Linked DNA regions of Homo sapiens: region 1 is linked to region 2. The links are contacts of gene promoters, found by promoter capture Hi-C in blood cells and fetal thymus (Javierre and others, 2016). All regions are on one chromosome and are shown on one strand. The core of a region is centred on a gene start or on the middle of the fragment in contact, and the rest is flanking DNA. Distances in the headings are between cores, read along the strand shown. Region 1 holds the start of SAMD9 (sterile alpha motif domain containing 9). Region 2 holds the start of AKAP9 (A-kinase anchoring protein 9).

Region 1 (6,583 bases), core at 2,129-4,628, 1.2 Mb before region 2:
ATGCTATCTATTTCACTGAGGAATTTTCCTTTCATATCCTGTATCATGTTTGTTATTTCTTTAAGTTAGAATTCACCTTTCTCTAGTGCCTTTTTGATTAGCTTAATAATAAACCTTCTGAATTATTTTCCTGGCAATTCAGAGATTTTGTCTTGGTTTGGATATATTGTTGGTGAGCTGGTGTGGTATTTTGGGGGTGTTCAAGAACCTTGTTTTTTCATATTACCAGAATTGTTTTTCTGGTTCCTTCTCATTTGGGTGACTGTGTCAGGGGGAAGATCTGGGACTCAAGGGCTACTATTCAGATTCTTTTGTCCCACAGGGTGCTCCCTTGATGTAGTGTTCTCCCACTTCCTCTAGGGATGGGGCTTCCTGGGAGCCAAACTGCAGTGATTGTTTTTTCTCTTCTGGGCCTAGTCATCTAGCAGAGCTACTGGACTCCAGACTGGTACTGGGAAGTGTCGGCAAAGAGTCCTGTGATGTAATACATCTTCAGGTCTTTCAGCTGTGGATACCAGCACCTGCTCCAGTGGAGGTAGCAGGGGAGTGAAGTGGACTCTGTAAGGGTCCTTGGTTATATCTTCGTTAAATGCTCTGGTTTTGTGTTGGTTGGCCTCCAGCCAGGAGGTGGCATTTTCAAGAGTGCATTAGCTGTGGTACTATAGGGAGGAAGCAAACTTGACCTAGGGTCATCTAGTTATATATTCATGTTTCTGAGGCAGTGGGCAGAATATGTCCTTTGTCTTGCAACCAGGGCAGGTAAAGAAAGACCAACAGGTTGGGGCAGGCATAGGTGTGGCTGAGCTCAGACTCTTATTGGGTGGGGTCTGCTGCACTTGCTGTAGGGGGCGGGGGTGTGGTTCCCAGGCCAATGGAGTTATGTTCCCAGGGGGATTATGGCTGTCTCCACTGAGTGACATAGGACACCAGGGAAGTGGGGAAAAGCCAGCAGTCACAGGCCTCACCCCATTTCCACACAACCCACACTCCTAAAGGCCAGTCTCACTCCCACTGTGCCCCTGCCAACAACATCGAATCTATTTCCAGGCAGTCGGTGACCAGGGCTGAGAACTTGCCCCTGGCTATCAGCCTCCCTGCTGAGAAAGCAAGCAGACTCATGACTTTTCTTTTTGGCATCTCAGAGAAACTGCAGTGGCGATACAGTTCCTTCAAAGGGTCTGTGAATTCTCTTGGCTTTCCTGGTATGTTGCTGCAGTAATTCTTGAAGCAAAAGTTCATGATGTGAGTCTCCACATGCTGTCCTGTCTGTCCCAGCAGGAGCTGCAAGCTAGTCCTGCCTCCTCACCCTCACAGAACCACCAGAATAATGTTTGACCAAATATCTAGGCACTCTGTGGCCCGGTCAAGTTGACCCATAAAATTAACCATCACACTGGTCCCCATGCAAAGTGAAACCCAGGTTTTGGAGTTCAGGCCCAGGGTCCCCTTACGAGGAGGGCTCCTGAGGGTGATAAGTGTAATGGTCATATCTAGGCTGTCCTTCATAGCCACTTTCTTTCTTCCTAAACCTCAGGATTTAAGAGCACTGGCCTGAAACCTGGATTCGAATCTCTGCCATGTATTAGTTATGCAAACTTTAGCCATATTATTTAATCTCTATGCCTCAGTTTCTTCACCTTTAAAATTGAGATAAAAATAATCTCTACCTCAGGAGATTGTTGTGAAGAGTAATTAAGTTAATATGAAACATTTAGAACAATGCCTGGTACATGGTAAGCGCCCAATAAATATTTTAAAATAAATGTTTTTAAATGTTTTCATCTAAAACCAGTGTGAATCAGTTGTGGGATGTGGAAACCAAAAGCTAATTGAGCACACACAATAAATATCAGTACTTGCTGTTAGTTTTTAAAATATCAGCTATTTTTGTTGCTCTCACTCAGGCAGTTTTCTCTCTGGCCCTGACACTGACCTTAGAAAAGATAAATCTCTACAATGTGACCATCAGGTCTGCTGCAGCCCTGGTCTGCTCTGCAATAAATGAATTTAGCACTTATTGGGGTGCTCAAAGAAGTCCTATCCCTGAAAGACATTCTTTACACTTTAGGAAAACAGGAATGGACAGTAACTCCACCCTTAAAGGCCAGTGAAATATTGACCTAGAGTATCTCCAACCTGGTGCTCTACAAGGCTGGGACTGCAATGTAAACTCATATTCCCAAGGGATCAATTAAGCCAGAATATCCCACAGTTTGTCTATAACAAGACAATGGGGCTTTCTGCAGCCCTCAAAACTCTCAAGTGAGGAAAAATTGTTAAGCCTTCAGATTTTAACCAAGCAGACCAGAAGGTGGTATATAGCCATAGCTTATTAAAAAGCATTTCAGATAGAAAAGGCGGTGCTGTAATTTCAGATCTGAGAAATGAAACTGAAACCAAACCTATATTCTTCCTTCCCCAACCTCCCAGTTGTTAAACACGCCCTGCTGTTTCTGAGCCAATTAGAGCTTGCTGTGAGACAGAAGCAGAGAATACATAGACTTCCGTTAAAACCAGAATGAGGAAAATACTTTTCTCTAGCATCGTAGGAGGAAGAAAACAAACACATCAGATATTTTCAGCACTAAAAGAGATGGTTTTCCCCACATATATGTAAAAGAAATTTGCAAGACTACTGGGTAAGTACAATATCTATTATTAATATTGTTCTTACTATCTATAGCAGCATTTTATTGAATAGAAAGAAATATACTTTTCAATTAGAAGCTTCAAATATACCTCAAAACAAAAAATAGTATTCTAAGCCTAGAAATTCTAGACTATTTGTTGCTCTGACAGCAGTCTGCTTTATATTAGTTGAAAAATTAGTCATAACATTTCATTAAAGATGCAGTTGAAAACTACAGACACTTTTATTGATGAACTCTCCCAAGGCATACAGCATCTTCAGAAAGAACAAACAGGCCAGGTGTGGTAGCCTGTAATTTGAGCACTTTGGAAGGCAAGGACAGGAGAATTGTTTGAGGCCAGGAATTCAAAATTAGCTTGGGCAACATAGCAAGACCCTACCTAGCAAGATTCCTACCAAAAAAAAAAATAGCTGGATGTGGTGGCACGCAGCTGCAGTCTAGCTACTTTGGAGGCTGAGGCAGAAGGATTGCTTGAGCCCAGGAATTTAAGGTTACAGTGAGCTGTAATTGTACCACTGCACTCCAGCATAGGCAACAGAGTGAGACACTGTCTCAAAAACAACAACAACAACAACAACAACAACAACAACAAACGGAAAGATAGATAAAGAACAGGCAATGAAAACTTAAAAGTACTTTACTTTAATCAAATACAACTTCCACCATCTACTCTAAGAAATAGGTAGCTTCCAGAAAACAAAACTCTCTGAGAGCTTCTCAGATATTGTTGTCGGATGACATACATAGGAAGACAGACAGACAGATAGACTACTATGGGAAGTCTTTGGAATTAAGGCAGCTTTATGTTCCTGGCAAAAATACTAGGTTTATGTCTAATTTCTCCCCAAAGCAAACAGTAAGATAATGCAAGACGGTTGGAGGATCACATTTCTGAATAAAGGTCTGACCTTCAACTCCCTTCTAGAAAAGTTAACAAACCCTACAGTTTAACACCAACCAGAGTTAAAAAATGTATGTGGGTTCAATCAGTAACAAATAGTGTTTCCTACTAAGATGCTCAGAACCAAATTTTCAGGTCAGTTTTTAAAGTATACGGAATCAAAACCAGTAATTTTAGGTACTAATTTTACTCCCTCATTTCACCTTTTCTCCCCCTACCCTTATTTAGCCTTCCCCATGATTTCTTTACCTAAGGGTTTTAATATATGTGTGATCCTATATTACTTTCTAAATTACCTAAAAAACATTTTGGAACGAGAGGGTATAAAGAAATCATTAATATGTAAAATATCTATGAACAGTGGCATAAATACCTATGAATGCTGGCATATATTTTCTCCAAGAGTGACATCATCAACAATTTTTTTAAAATAATGTATTGAAAGGCACAGCTATCAATAATCTGACAAAAGCTTTAGGGGAAGAAGTGTGAAAGTGTAACCTGTTCAATGACATTTGAAATATTCATAGTGTCTCTAGTAGAGAAAACAGTCAAAAGTCACTTCTTTATTATTTGCTTACTTTCCCAACCAAATGTTCAGGCCCAGTTCTCCATCCCCCACACTCTTATATGAGAACCTGACTTTACGTTTTCACATATAATGGTATGTAGTTCTTGCATGAATCAAATAATCCATCTAATTCACCAGTCTCATAATCTAGTTTATGACATATCACCAGAGACTAAGGACTGTGTCTGTAAAACTGTGAAAGGTCCAAGTTGATGAAGGAAGTCAGGGAGACCCTAGGAAAAGGGTACTGGTGGGAAGCGGCGAGATGGGGGATGAGAGCCATAGGTATGAGGCCTCAGGAGCCAGCGCACGCTAGCAGCACAATAATCGGGGACCCCTGCTTTATGTGTTAAATAGTGTGGGTGCAACAAAAGTGAGCATACTTTCATAGGGTGGAGTAGACGTGACTCAGTAAATGGATACAAGAAAGTGACTCAGATAGAATGGTTACTAGACGAGGGTGTAGTCAGTTTTTAGACAACTCTAAAACCAGTATTGAATCAACACTGAGTGGGATGCAGAAGTCAAAAGTTCATAATCTGAGACTGCAATAATAAACACCTAGTAAAACTTTAGGACCTCACATACCATTGAATTCACAATTATCCTTGATTCATAACACACCATCATCTTTTTTATGCAAGTATCTCTTTTATTTTATTCATCCGTTTTATTTTCTAATGTATTTTGGAGGCATTATTGGCTTTTTAAATACAGTATAACTTGTATACAATGAACAAACTTAAGGGTAAGCCTTTATGAAATTTTAATATGTACTTATCTGTGCAACCGCTAGCCATATCAAGATATAAAATATTTCCATCACCCCTTCCCAGAAAATATCCACCCCCCAACATCAGTCTGACTTCTATGACAGATTACTTTTGCCTATTCTTAAACTATATAAGTAGAATTCTACAATATGTTTTCTGTTGTAACTGGCTTCTTTCACACAGTATGATGTGATATTCATTCATGTTGTTGCCTGTATCAGTACTTTAATAATTTTCATGAGAATTGCAGATCCAAAGAGTAGGTATATATTTAACTTCACAAAAACTGATAGTTTCTTGAAGTGGCTAAAACAATGTACATTCCCACAGACAGCATATGAGAGCTCCACTGACTCCACATCATCACCAACATTTGGCATTAACAGTCTTTAATTTTAGCCATTCTGGTAGGCATGTAGTATTATCTTGTTGTAATTTTACTTTGCATTTCCATTACGGTAAACATTTTGGAACACTTCTAATTGCACTTCATTAGACCCGCCCCTGTGACTATGAAAATCCCCACTGGTTTTCCTCCTCCCGGTAGGCCAAGTCTAATCCTTAAACCCAACCCCAAATCAACAAATGCCCCCAAAGCTTACATAGACAGGGATCTTTCCTCTCTGGAATTTTAGTTCATCCAGTCCTTGTCATCTGGTCTATTGATGACTTTGTGATTACTTAAAAATATGAGTTTTGCAATTTTTCAGATTTTGATCTCATGGTTGCAGTGGGTGAATAGGTGGCCTTTTGTGATCTCCTACATCACCCTGGAAGTGAGACTTCTTCGGTTTCTTCTAGAGTCAGTTTGGTAAGCTATATTTTTTAAGAATTTGCTCAATTAATCTCAGTTTTCAATTTATTCAGTTAAAGTTGGTTCATTTTTAAAGTTTCTAATATTGCTTATTTGTGCCACCTTTCTTTTTTATTTTTTGGTTAATCATTCCATGGATGTGTCAATTTTATTACTTTTTATCTAAACAGCTCTTGGACTTCACTGAGTCTCTCTTGTCATTTTGTTTTCCACTTTATAAATTCCTGCTCTTATCTTTATTTTTCTCATTCTTCTTATTTCAGTTTTATTCTGTTATTCTTCTTTCAATTTATTAAACTGGCATTAGGTTCATGATTTTCAGTCATTCCTCCTTTTTTAAAAAACTATACTTTAAGTTCTAGGGTACATGTGCACAACGTGCAGCTTTGTTACATATGTATACATGTGCCATGTTGGTGTGCTGCACCCATTAACTTGTCATTTACATTAGGTATATCTCCTAATGCTATCCCTCCCCCCTCCCCCACCCCACAACAGGCCCCAGTGTGTGATGTTCCCCAACCTGTGTCCCAGTGTTCTCATTGTTCAGTTCCCACCTGTGAGTGAGAACATGTGGTGTTTGACTTTCTGTCCTTGGCAACACTTTGCTCAGAATGATGGTTTCCAGCTTCATCCATGTCCCTACAAAGGACATGAACTCATCCTTTTTTAAGGCTGCATAGTATTCCATGGTGTATATGTGCCACATTTTCTTAATCCAGTCTATCAATGATGGACATTTGGGTTGGTTCCAAGTCTTTGCTATTGTGAATAGTGCCGCAATAAACATACGTGTGCATGTGTCTTTATAGCAGCATGATTTATAATCCTTTGGGTATATACCCAGTAATGGGATGGCTGGGTCAAATGGTA
Region 2 (6,759 bases), core at 3,699-6,198:
AATGAAGTCATTTAAAATGGAGTTAAAATAGTTTGGTTCAACACAAGGACAACCTATGTAGTGCCATCCTCGTCAAAACACTGCAGAGGGAGCTAGCCCAGCTCTGAAAATATTTACTTAATACATAATGCAGTAATGTCTCACATCTCCCAGGGTCATGCTTCTTGCAACATCAATACTGAGGAAATAGCTGAGGACCCAACAGTAAACCAAAACAACCAACAAGCAGCAGAAAAACTAAACTGCCCTAAAGCCCACTGGGCAGGCTACACTGGCCTCTGTTTTTGTTTTGTTTTGTTTTTTGAGACAGAGTCTTGCTCTGTCACCCAGGCTGGAGTACAGTGGCACAACCTCGGTTCACTGCAACCTCCACCTCCTGGGTTCAAGTGATTCTCCTGCCTCCACCTCCCCAGTAGCTGGGATTAGTACCTGCCACCACGCCTGGCTAATTTTTTTGTATTTTTTAGTAGAGACGGGGTTTTGCCATGTTGGCCAGGCTGGTCTCAAACTCCTGACCTCAGATGATCCACCCACCTCAACCTCCTAAAGTGCTTGGATTACAGGTGTGAGCCACTGCGCCCCACCTGTTTTGTTTTTTATACTTTTTTCTTTTTAGAGATGGGGTCTCACTACATTGCCCAGGCTGATCTAGAACCTCTGGGCTCAAGCGATCCTCCCACCTCAGCCTCCCAGTGTTGGGATTACAGGAGTGAGCCATCACACCCCGCCTAAGGTCTTTGTTGTTGTTGTTTTTTCTTTTTACATAGTATTCTGTCAACCTCAGTTCTGGGTTCCTTAGTCGTAGCAAATCTAAAACAGCAAATTAGGAAAAGAGGCAGATGAGGAGTAAGAGCATGCCCATAGCAATACGAACTAACAGCAAGGAAAGAATAAGCACAACAAAAACAGAAAGGAAATCTATAAAATGTCTAACAATATAATCCCAACTATATTATACACTCTGCACTGAAATAGCAATTACAATTCCAGGCCTACGCTAAAATAGGAAACCTAGTTATTCTGTGCCTCATTTTCCTGTTCTGGATAATGGTCATACACTATAACATGTGTTTAATATAATGTATTTGATAAGCCTTTATGTTTTTTAAAAAATGGCATTTGAGGCTGAGTGCAGTGGCTCATGCCTGTAATCCCAGCACTTTGGGAGGTCGAGGCAGGCAGATCACTTAACGGCAGGAGTTCGAGACCAGCCTGGCCAACATGGTGAAACCCCATCTCTACTAAAAATACAAAAATTAGCCAGGCGTGGTGGTAAATGCCTGTAATCCCAGCTACTTGGGAGGCTGAGGCAGGAGAATCGCTTGAACCTGGGAGGTGGAGGCTGCAGTGAGCCAAGATCCTGCCACTGCACTCCAGCCTGGGAGACAGGCTGTCTCAAAAAAAAAAAAAATGGCATTTGAATATTCTTTTCTGGTCATAAAAGAGATACATTGTATCAAGAATTTGGAAAATACTAAAAGTATAAAGAAAATTAAAATTGCCTATAAGCCACCACCCAGAGATAGCCACGATTTACATCTTGGTGCTTTTTTTCAGGTGTCTTCATATTTAAATATGTACATATACCTTTTCCTGGTAACTTTTTTCTTTTTAACCTGGCATTATTTGTGGGCATTTTCCACACTCAAAAAGTCTTTGTAGAATTATTTTACATATCATAATTTATTAACCCATTATTACAGATTTGGGGTAGTATAAAACATTTTATACAGTATACTATATATTATACTGCATACATGACAAACTGTTTAAAAAGTGATCATTTATAAGGTTTAGATACAGAAAGGGAATTTTCCAATGGAACTGTTTATCAATAAATTACCCCCAAAAAGATTTGTAAGTTGTGGTTTGCAAAACTAGATTATCAAATACAATACTTAAGTCCAGTGAACAAATGAGACATTTGCAGAATGAAGTCTCAGATAAACTTTGGAAAATGATCATTTAAAGTTGTTTCTGATGCCAGCAATATGGATTTCACATTAAGAGAATTCTAGATTAATGTTATTAAATTACAACCGTGCTAGGAAAGTAACACTTATTAATGACTCATTAATCATTCTGTTCATTCATTAAGCAAATATGTATGAATAACTATTTGAAAGGCATTATATTATGGTGCATTAATATCAATAGTAAAGCTTTCTTAGTAATTCTATAAAATGACATAGTAGTATTTAAAACACTTTAACAAAACGTGGAAGAATATCCCCCAAATCCTACTGCAGCTCATCCCTCTTTGTACTTATCACCCAGAGTCTGTCTCTCCCACTAAACAGTGAGCAACTTGAGAGCAGACACTGTCACCACCTCTAGGTATAAAATAGGGATTCAATATACGTTTGCTGAATAAAATTATAATCCAGAGTTTTTCAGTTCTAATCTGAAAGCACACGTTTATACAAATGAAATAATGTACATACTATTTTTGATAATGCCCTTTTCACACTATTTTTCATATTCCTATCAGTCTTCATAATCTTAATGGCTTTAAAATATTCCATCATATTTATATAACTTAGAAAATGATTCCCTTCGTGTTGTCTTTAAAAGTTATTTCCAGGGGTTTTTTTTTGTTTGTTTGTTTTCTGAAACAGGATCTCATTCTGTTGCCCAGGCTGGAGTGCAGTAGCATGATGATAGCTCACTGCAGCCTCGAACTCCTGGGCTCAAGTGATCCTCCCACCTCAGACTCCTGAGTAGCTAGGACTACATACAGGCGCACACCACCATGCCCTGCTATTTTTTTTTTTTATTTAATTTTTTGTAGAGTCTCACTATGTTGCCCAGGTTGGTCTTGAACTCCTGGTGTCAAGCAATCCTCTCGCCCCAGGCTCCCAATGTCAGCATTTTTATATTGTATAGCTAATGTTGCAGCAAACACACCTTGCCTTACAAGTCTCATAGATTTATATCTTACTGGAAAAAGGGCTAAATTCTAAAAGAAGATAATCTTTTACAACAAAAATTCACCTTAAACAGGTTTTTACCCCATACATAGAATTCTGAAAGATAAAGAAACACACAAAGAAACTAGAATTGTATTTTGCCACATCAACTACAACTGCAAGCAATTTAAATAAATCCTCTATTATGAAATGTGTATGTCCAAAGTAAACCATGTTTTGTAGGACTGCTTCACATATATTCAGGAAAGACATTTCTGGGGGCAGGCAATAAAAATTGTGAGGTAACAGACAAGTAAGACATCTAATCAGATCTTCAATGCTTTTGGAGGGGCACACACTTCACCTCCACTACTTCCGTAGATGCATAGAGCTTGCTCAGCCCCTCAGATTGCACAAGTGTAGGCTTTGGACTTCTAAAGATACCCTGATTCCCCTTTCCCACCATTTATAGATTCGAAAGTAAAAATTTACCTGGCTATATACAAGCATTTAAACCTTGATCTTAAATAGAGGGAGCTTATAGGAAAGTCAACTATATTTTAGAAATATGAAGCTAGTTTTTATATATATATTCATTTAACAAACTTGTGTTGAGCTTCTATCACTGCATCTCTGCGGTATGGCCCTTCATTGATAATAAATCACTAACCTGGTTTCCTTTGTTTATGTGAGGAGAAGAGAAAGGAAGAGAGGAAAAACAGTTACCTGTAATACAATTTTTGTCCAAGTATGACTGCTAACAATTATCTCTAAAAATAATATAATCCATAAAAGAAGACTTCATTGAAGGGAGGAAGGGGGCTTTTGAGCCCAGACAAAATATATGCTCAAATATGTAATTTTTAAAAGAAATATGCTACGCAGCTTATATTCTGTATATGTTAAATTTCTCATGAAGCCCAATGAACGATGCCTGTGTATAATTGTGTATTGTATTGTTTGCTTTACAGGCTTTTCCATAACCGTTCACACACACACACACACACACACACACACAACCAGGATTCGCCAGAGAGATATATAACAACTAAATTATTTAAAGCAGGAATTCTATAGGTGTTGGCATATGGAACCTTTCGGTCCTCAGAAGTTCCATTCACAGACTGCATTAACATTCCATAGGACACAAAAGCGCATGCCATGACAAAGACCTTCAAGTACAAACATACAAAGACACGCTTCTAAAAACGCCCCTAAAGCCAAGTTCACAGCTGGCACTTGTGGCACACACAAGCCACTGCTGAGACAGCTGTCACAGGCCAATCACACACACCCAAGAGTGCCAGCGTGCTACCTAAGGAAGACAAGCTGATGATCAGCGCACAAATCCCCAACCCAATAAAGAAAAGCCCTAAATCCCCACCCTGGAAAGCACAATGCCTGCACCACCCAGAAAACTCCTTAAAAAAATGAAAGATCGGAGGTTTAGAAGCAACTAAACACTAGTTTACAGCAATACAGTAAAAGGGGAGTTTTATTTGGACATTCACGAGAAAGGAGCCACAATATTCAATCCTCGCGGAAGTATTATCAGCTAGCACAAGGCTTTGTCCCCCAACTGGAAAAAGGGGAAAGGAGGAGGGCGAGGAGAGATGCAGACCCTAAGACCCTGCAGCACCTCCCTCTCGGGCAGTGCACTGGGGCTGCGGCGAACTCCGCTTCCCAGGCCCCCTCCCACCCCGTGCTAGCCACCGCCTCCCACCGCAGGCCCGGTTGCCTCGGGCTCTCCTACCTTGGCTTTGCCGGCCTCCAGCTTCTTCTGTCTCTCCTCGTCCTCCATGGCCTCTGCAAGGAAGGCAGGGGAAAACAGGGGTTGAGGGGTGGTTGGGGATAGAAAGGAAAGGTCGATTTGGACGGAGGTGGGACGGCAAGCTCCACGGCCTAGAGAGCCGATTCGGTCCGGCGCTCCCCCGCCCGAAGTGGAAGCAGTCTCCGCGCTCACTGGCGGATCGTCCTCAGCCGCACGGGAAGCGCCGTCACCGCCGCCGCCGCCGCCATCTTCGTCTCCACGTAAACACACGGCGAGGCGGGAGGGGCTGGAACGTCTGTCCGCGCAGCCGCCTCGTGGGCAGGTGCTCCTGGGGTGCCGCCCCGGCCCAGCCCTCCGGGGTCAACCCTTGCCAGGCCTGGGACCTGCCTCCTACCAGCGAGGATCCCGCCGTAGAGAGCGCCCTTCCCGCACATCAACGGCTCACAGGTGGCGGCCGAGCTGAGGGGTAGGAGAGACGGAGTGTGCCAGAGGCTCCTGGCCTGACCCCCACCCTCCGTCCGAGGAATCCACTGCTATTAAAACATGAGTTTTTTTTTTCCTTCAGGTTACAAAACTAACACACCTAATGGTGAAATTGGCGAACACCTACAAGCTCCAACGGAAAAGTTCCGGTGGGGGGTGGTGGGGGGGCGGACGCCAGGTTTTCTACCTACATTAACTGCTTGACTCAAGAATTATGAGAGCAGCTAATTGCTCTTATTACTTCCTTAGCCTGAAAAGTCCCTCCCTCTTCCCTCCACTGGTTCCCACTCAATCTCCGGTTCATCCTTATAGTCCCATCGCACACGCTGCCTCCAAATGGCTTTTCTGACCTCTTGTTCCCTCCACGGCAACCGAGACACATCCAGTCAAAACTTAGTCCCCTCCCCCGACTCTTTGGGGCTTCCCTTTAACAGTAGTGTTCTGAAAGGAGCCTGAGCTTTAGAACCTCGGTTAGGGACAATGCCAGACTACACTAACTTTCTAGCGTTAATGACAAGTTACCTATCCTCCCTGAGCCTACCTGGAATTTTTGGAAGGGTTGTTAATATATGTGACTGCCCTGACATATTAAAACGTCCTGAATAATGTCAGCTTTATTTCTCCTTGGACTTCCTTTAAGTACCCTGCACCATATTTTAATAATTTGTGTGCGTCTTAGTTCAGCTCATACTCCCAGCTCCTTGATGACAGAGACTCATCATAAGTCTTGCTCATCTTGGCTTTACTAAAATGACCAGCACAGAGCTCTGCACTCAATAAACGCTTTTTGGATTGAATTGAGCAGTGTTTATAAATTTAACATTACTATCTTTCCTTGTTTCCCCGACATGTGCTCCCTCAGTCCTTTGTGTTCGTCTCCCTGCCCTCCAATGCTCACATCCATTCCTGGAGTGAACTACACATTTTAATGTCTCTGGTTGATTACTCAGATTTATCATGTTTCTCCGTTGCTTTGAGCTAGGTTGGACTGAAAAACTAGCAGTTGTGAACAAAAAATAGGCTAAAATGAGTTCAAGCGTAGAAGTGGTGTTAAGTGAAAAATTGAGGTTAAAAAACAAAAAAGGAGATAATAAAGACCTTAAGTCTACCACAAACTGAAGATGAGTTTTAAATAGCCCTCATTTAGAAATCTTAGCTTTAAAAAAGATTTTTTTCTTAAGCTCCGTAATGCATACATTCTGCCAACTTCTAACAGCCAAGTGCATATTGTCCTGTTATCTCAACCTGAATTAGGAACCAGGTAAAATTAGACATTTTATCATAGGGATGAAAGAATTGAGGCAATAAGTGATTTACTTAGTCACCCATCAAATTAAGAGTAAGGACTAGAACTAAGTGTTCTAATAGTGCAGTGATTTAAATACTGCCTGGATTGAGGGATTATGAGTGTAGATGCTGATTGCCTAGGAGGGGGAAGCCCCAGGGTATCCAAAGCTATTCCTGTTTGTTAAAGGATACTGCTTTCTCGGTGACTAAATAAGTCAGCTGTTTGTAGGTGCTGAGAATGTTCAAGAATACCTTCCAAAGCAACAAGATTATTTCAATGTTTCCTTCACTGATAGCAGCCAATCATAT

Evidence for each region. The method cuts DNA at HindIII sites, captures the fragments that hold promoters and counts their contacts. A CHiCAGO score of 5 or more calls a contact.
Region 1: a contact is called between a fragment that was not itself captured here and the fragment with the promoter of AKAP9 in region 2, in 1 of 17 cell types (total CD4 T cells). The highest score is 5.3, in total CD4 T cells.

Annotation. Positions count from the first base shown.
Region 1 is chr7:93,113,919-93,120,501 of GRCh38, reverse strand. It overlaps SAMD9 (sterile alpha motif domain containing 9), which reads left to right and starts at 2,523. Exons shown (of 3, transcript NM_017654.4): 1 at 2,523-2,639; 2 at 5,607-5,707. The HindIII fragment of the contact is 1,297 bases long and covers 2,730-4,026 here.
Region 2 is chr7:91,939,051-91,945,809 of GRCh38, reverse strand. It overlaps AKAP9 (A-kinase anchoring protein 9), which reads right to left and starts at 4,948. Exons shown (of 50, transcript NM_005751.5): 1 at 4,663-4,948. The coding sequence starts at 4,710. LOC124901698 (a long non-coding RNA gene) reads left to right here and starts at 4,959. Exons shown (of 2, transcript XR_007060431.1): 1 at 4,959-5,146; 2 at 5,246-5,960. RefSeq lists enhancers at 4,658-4,807, 4,846-5,407 and a silencer at 5,008-5,117. The HindIII fragment of the contact is 23,233 bases long and covers 2,165-6,759 here.